Regions from separate parts of the Homo sapiens genome. Here region 1 is linked to region 2. Evidence: promoter capture Hi-C in human tissues and cell types (Jung and others, 2019). All regions are on one chromosome and are shown on one strand. The core of a region is centred on a gene start or on the middle of the fragment in contact, and the rest is flanking DNA. Distances in the headings are between cores, read along the strand shown.

The links. The method cuts DNA at HindIII sites, captures the fragments that hold promoters and counts their contacts. A contact is called where the count stands out against the background at its distance.
Region 1: a fragment that was not itself captured here is called in contact with the fragment with the promoter of DIO3 in region 2 in 2 of the 25 tissues and cell types used here (H1 embryonic stem cells and thymus).

The regions. Positions count from the first base shown.
Region 1 is chr14:101,219,070-101,222,094 of GRCh38, reverse strand. No RefSeq gene overlaps it. Among named protein-coding and RNA genes, the nearest start is that of LINC02285, 100 kb to the right of the region's middle. RefSeq lists an enhancer at 1-550. The HindIII fragment of the contact is 9,586 bases long and covers 1-3,025 here.
Region 2 is chr14:101,559,892-101,562,912 of GRCh38, reverse strand. DIO3 (iodothyronine deiodinase 3) reads right to left here and starts at 1,418. Exons shown (of 1, transcript NM_001362.4): 1 at 1-1,418. The coding sequence starts at 1,416. The coding sequence ends at 502. It overlaps DIO3OS (DIO3 opposite strand upstream RNA), which reads left to right and starts at 2,491. Exons shown (of 2, transcript NR_152588.1): 1 at 2,491-2,661. It overlaps MIR1247 (microRNA 1247), which reads left to right and starts at 2,491; the gene lies at 2,491-2,626. The HindIII fragment of the contact is 20,870 bases long and covers 1-3,021 here.

The sequences.
Region 1 (3,025 bases), core at 213-2,712, 340 kb after region 2:
AAGGGTTCTAGGCCCCCAGCAGGGGCAGGGGCAGCGGCAGGACAGATCCATGAGGATGGGGCAGGGTCTGAGGGGCCAAGGCAGAGTCACCGGCTGAGAGCATGCAGCGCCTTAGTGAGTTGCTGCTGCCATGACAAATTTCCAAAGCCTGGGCAGCCTACAGATAGCCCAGCTTTACTTCTACAAGTCCGGGAAGCTGGAAGTCAGGTTGCCAACATGGTCAGGTTCTGGGGAAGGCCCTCTCCTGGGCTGCAGACAGCTGTCGTCTCATTGTGTCCTCACATGGTAGAAAGAGGGTGAGAGAGCTCTCTGGGGCCCCTTTTAGAGGGCACTAATCTCATTCGTGAGGGCTCCACCCTCGTGACCTAGTCACCTCCCAAAGGCCCCACTTCCTAATATCATCACTTTGGGGGTTAGGATTTCAACATCGCATCTGGGGGGACACAACCATGCACTCCATAACAAAGAGGGAGACACACCGTGTAGGGAATGGGTCTGTCCATGGCAATGGGGCAGGGGGCTAGGAGTGTGAGTTGGGGACTATGCCCCAGGAAGCCCAGAAGAAGAGCAGAGTCACCTCCCATGACACTTCACATGTCATGGGAGGTGAGCTGTGACCAGGGAGGCTGCAAGGAAAGCCCCCATACTTCATGTGGTGGGGCCTGCCCAGCAACAGAGGCATCACTGGCAGGGCACGATCACTCCTGGAAAGAAGAGGTCACAGCATTTGGGCAGAAGCACCACTCAAGGGTAACTTAAGGCATGGCTCTCTTCTAGGGAGGGGCATGTGGCCACACCGCTGGCACCACTGACGTCCGAACACGGGCTAGGACCTCCCGCCATGGACTCAACTGTGGAAACACCGCGACCTTCTGGGAACACACAGATGATGGCCAGTGTGAGCTGTGCAGTTCGGCTGTCCTCGGTCACAAGAGGCCTGATGAGACCCAGACACTCACCAGGGAAAATGCGATTTCTCATTGGATCTTCCTTCTTGGTTTTGTAGAATAAACATTTGTCAGCTCTGGGAGCACGTATACCAATTAATTACCACTTGGACAGGCTCAGAGGCGCGTGCCATCTGAGGAGCCTGCTCATGGTCACGTTTTCCTCTCTGTGCTCTGCCCGGCCTTGGGGATCAAATTAGGGGGTGGGGTGGCTTTCAGGAGTCCAAGATGTGGAATGAGGCCTCTGTAAGGAAGTTGTGTTGGTTTCCTGGTGGCCTTTATAATTGCACTAGGGTTTTGGTGGGGCAGGTGGGAAGGAGGGAGGAAGCAGAAATGTCACCTTCCTGGTAAGACCCACCCGGACTGCCCTATTTACAAACGTACCCTCTGGTCACCATGATCCTAACGCACCCCTTAACCAGCTCTGTTGCTTTCTTGTTTTCCATAGCAGTGAATACTTCCAACATTCTGTACATAATTCATTGTTCTATTTTGTTTATTTTTTATTTTCTGGTTTAGACCACCTCACTGTCCTCGTGTCCACCCCGAGGGTCGAGCTGTCAGAGCTTGCTCTCCAGTGCAGCTCAAATGCATAGAAGTCACCTGGCTCTCGATAATCATTGGTATGGAATAAATATTTGACAGTCAGCAAATATTTGATGAACTTTTACCTCTCACTAGGAAGGATAACAGGGACTAGAATTCCCCTCCCTCCTGAAGCATCTAAAAATCTGGACAAAACATGTGAAATCAACAATTTTCAGACATGAGACATCAGACAGTTCAAGACGGTAATCCCTGAGACAAACAATGTGAGCCCTGCGATTGCGCCAGCTTGCTGTCTGGAGACAGTTTCCAGGCCATGGTGCAGGGAGGAGGACTGAGACAGAGCCAGGGTCTTTCTGAATTGAGATGGAACTGGGAGTCTGATGAGGCCGAGGCAGCTGGAGTCCACAGGACAGAAGAACGAGAGGCACAGAAAGGGAGTTTCTGAGATGTGCAGAGGGATCTCCCCCGACCCCTAGCATTCAGTAGAGGGCTGATCAGCACATGGGTGGGCAAACTGCATGGGAGGAAAGACCCACCCAGAAGCATTCGCAGCAACAGTGCCCATGCTCACGAAGGGCTGGGAGTAGTGCCTGTTCCCACCAGCCAGACTGGACAATCTCACAGCTTCTGGGCACCCAGGAGAGTACTCAGTAGGGTGTCAGCCCAGTAGTGGGGTGAAATTCACCCTAGACTAAATGATGCTCTGGTCCCACCTAACAGAACTTAAAACCAAGCCTCAAGAGGATCAAACTGTTTCTAAGTAACTTAACTGTGTCTGAAAACAGTATTTATAGGAATATAAACGTCAAGCACCTAACAAGGTAACATTTATGATGTCTGGGATTTAAGAAAAGATTACCCAGGCATGCAAAGAAACAGGAAAATATGCCCTATAATCAGGAGAAAACCCAATCAAGCAAAACTGATTCAGAAATACTAGAGATGATGGAATTAGTCAACCGGATGAGAAAACAATTATTATAATTCTAATTCTCCACGTTCAAGAAGCTTCAGGAAAGATTGAGCATGTTAAGTAGAGACATGTAATGAAAAGAGATGTAAGTCAAACTTCAAGAGCTGAAAATACAATTATCTTAGATGAAAAATATACTGGATGGGATTAACAGAAGATTAAATACCACAGAAGAAAAAAAGATTAGTTAACTTGAAGACATAATAATATAAACTATCCAAAATAAAACATATGGAAAAAACAAAAATTGAAAAAAAAATAAACAGAGAAGAAGGAAGCTATGGATAACTTCCAAAGACCCAAGGAATATGTAAACTAGAGCTTCTGGAACAGAGGAGGAGGAGAAAGAAAAAATATACATTGGAAAAAAATAAAGCAGAAAATTTTACAAATTTGATGAAAACTATACATACCAAGATCCAAGAAGTTTAATGAATCCCAAGTCCATGAAACGCGAGGAAAAGCACACCCAAGCACATCAGGGAAAATTGTAGAAAATAAAAAGCACACATTACATACAGAGGGACAAACGGAACGAGGAGAGCAGACGTCTCGT
Region 2 (3,021 bases), core at 169-2,668:
GAAACAGACACAAAAGCAACAGGGAACCCCCTCTCCGCGCGCGACAGGTGGGTGCCAGGCAACTAGCTCAGCTGAGCTGAGAGTCTCCTGGAACCCAGCTGCGCTCAGGGCGCGCGGGCGTGGCCAAGGTCTCTGTGCAGCTGCGGGAAGCACCGGGCCAAAGCACTTGGCTGAGGGCACGCTGGGGAGGGGGTGTAAGAAAATGCTGTAGAGGCAAAGTCCTGGGGGCACACGGACAAGGGCAAGCCATATCCCGCGCTCAAAAGAGGATTTCCAGTGAGCCAGGCAGGTGTGAATGAGACAGTTACAGAAGCAGAGTCCCAGGGAGGTAGGGGAGATTGTTCATGTGGCTGAGGGTGCAGACTCAGTCTGAAATGGTGGCTCAGCACATCAGTGTCACTGGGGCCTCGCCAAGCGTGACTTGGTTTGAGGCGCTTGCACGTGGGCTTCGAAGGCTCGAAGGCCCAGCCCACCAAGTTCAGTCAATTGTCCGTTGGATGTTTACACCCTCCGGGGCCGAGCGCCGTGCAGTTGCTCATCATAGCGTTCCAACCAAGTGCGCAGCTCAGAGACCTGGTAGCCGTCGGGGCCACGGCCGCCCTGGTACATAATAGTGCCACTCTGGATGACATAGAGACGCTCGAAGTAGGCGCCATAGGCCGAGCTGCTGGAGTTGGCCATGGTGTCGAGGACCAGAGCGCAGCCGGGTGCACCTTGCTGCAGTACCCTCGCTGCGCTGACCCGGTCCTCCAGGCTCCGGTGCTGTGGGATGATGTAGGGAGAGTCCGTGGTGACCCAGCCGTCGGAGGGGTGCGCTTCCTCGATGTAGATGATGAGGAAGTCGACGTCGCGCTGGTACTTAGTGACCAGGCGCTGGAAGGCGCTCATGCGCGCCATGAACGGTGGTCAGGTGCAGCTGCCGAAATTGAGAACCAGCGGGCGGTTCCCTTGCGCGTAGTCGAGGATGTGCTGGCTCTGGAAGCCGTCGGGCAGAACCACCTCGGAGTTGGGCGCCGGACCGCCCTCGTGCGCCTGCTTGAAGAAATCCAACTTCTGGCCATGCCACACCGCCTTGAGCGACGCCAGGGTGCACAGGCGGTTGTCGTCGGACACGCAGATGGGCGGGTCATCGGGAGGCACCTCCTCGCCTTCACTGTTGAGCTCCACTTCGGGCTCGGGCTGCCCCCGGCGGCGGCGGCCCAGGAAATGCTTGCGGATACACAAGAAATCGAGAAGCCAGAGCATGAAGGCCGTGCCGAGGAAGCGCGGGAAGAGCACGAGGCACGAGGCGGTCTGGGCGCAGAGCCTCAAGGAGTGAAGCAGCAGGGAGCGGAGCATGGTGGCTGCAGGCCCCGAAGCCCCCTGGGACCCCTCGCCCTCTCCGACCACCAACCGCGACGTGGCCTGGCGAGGCATCTGGGCTTCAGCAGTGCAGGGAGTTCAATTTATAGCGGAGGCTTCAATTGGCGGGAGACTCCACCTCCGGCCCGGCCCGCCCCCTTGCAACTTGAGCCCGGAGGGATCACCCAGCAGCGCGGCCAATGCCCTAGAAATCTTGGGCTGAGGGCGGGCGCAGGCGGGCGGAGGGCGGAGCGGCCGGGCCTGGGGCCGGTGGGGGCGGGCCCGGGCCCCGCAGCCAGCTCTCGGGGGCGGGGGACTCCGGCAGCCGCTGCCGCTGGGGACCGGGAGCCCGACCAGGGACCTGGGCGTCCGCTGGGGAGGTCCTCCAGCTGGCGCGAGCGCTGCGCGCCGCCCTGGTCCCCGCCGCCTGGCTCCGGCCCGCGCCCCCCTCGCCGCGCACCTGAGCCGAGCTCCCCGGCGGCCGCCGAGCCGCGCCGGAGCTCCGGTTCGCTTCCCGCGCGCCGCCGCCAACGCCGCCCACGCCGCTGCCGCTCGTGCGGGGCCGCTGCCCAGGTGCCGCGGGAGGCCGGGTCCGCGGCCGCCGCTTCGGTGGCCCCGGCTCCCGCCCCACCGAGGACGCGGGCCAGCGAGGAGGCAACTTTGCGTTCCCGCCGCCTTCCTGGCTCGCCCGCGGGCGCCGCTCGCCTGCCGGAGCCCGCCCGCCCGCCTCCCGCGCGCGCTCACACTCGCGCCTCGCACACGGCCGCCCCCCGCACCGCCCCGCCACGCACACCGCGCTCCGCGCCCCCCGCCGCTGCCCGAGGCTGCCGCGCGCCGCCCCAGCCCGCGCCGCCCTGGCCGCGCCCGCCCCGTCCCATCTCGTTCCAGCGGGGCGCCGCGGTTCCTGGGTCAGCGGCCGCCGGGGCCGGGCTGAGAGGTGCGGAGGGCAGAGCCCGCGGGCGGGTTACCGCCGGGCGCCGGAGACCGGAGAGCTGGGGAAAGCGGCGCCGGCCCTGCGCCCCCAGCCGACCCGGGCGCGGGGCGCCACGGGCGTGGGGCGCGGGGCAGCGGGCGCGGGGCGGCGCCGGCCCCGGGCGGCTCTCCCACTAGGGGTAGCTGTTGCCTGAACGCCGGAGCGCTCCCCTCTCGCCGCTTGCCTCGCCCAGCGCAGCCCCGGCCGCTGGGCGCACCCGTCCCGTTCGTCCCCGGACGTTGCTCTCTACCCCGGGAACGTCGAGACTGGAGCGCCCGAACTGAGCCACCTTCGCGGACCCCGAGAGCGGCGGCGCGACTCACCGCGGAGGCGCCCGGACGCGTCAAGTGCGTACTTTCAACCGTAAATGGGTGCTGAGCGTTTAGGGGTGCGGGGCAACTCCCTAACTCGTGGGGCCCTGGCCGGCCCTGCCGCGGCGTCCGAGACCTTCTGATCCCTCGCTGCGCGCGGCGCGGGGTTGGCGACTTGGGCTCAGGGGCGGCGGGGCGGGGAGGTGCCTTGACCTAGGGACCCAGAGGCCGGGAGCAAGTCTCCTTTCGCCTTGGACTGCAGTGTCCCCCAGGGCAAGGCCTGAACCAGGTCGCGAGGGTCTGTCTCCCGTCTGGGGAGCTGAACTGCCCGAGACACTGTCGCAGTCGCGGGGACTTGTCTGGAGCGGCGGGGTCTGAGCCCAAGTCGGAAGCCGC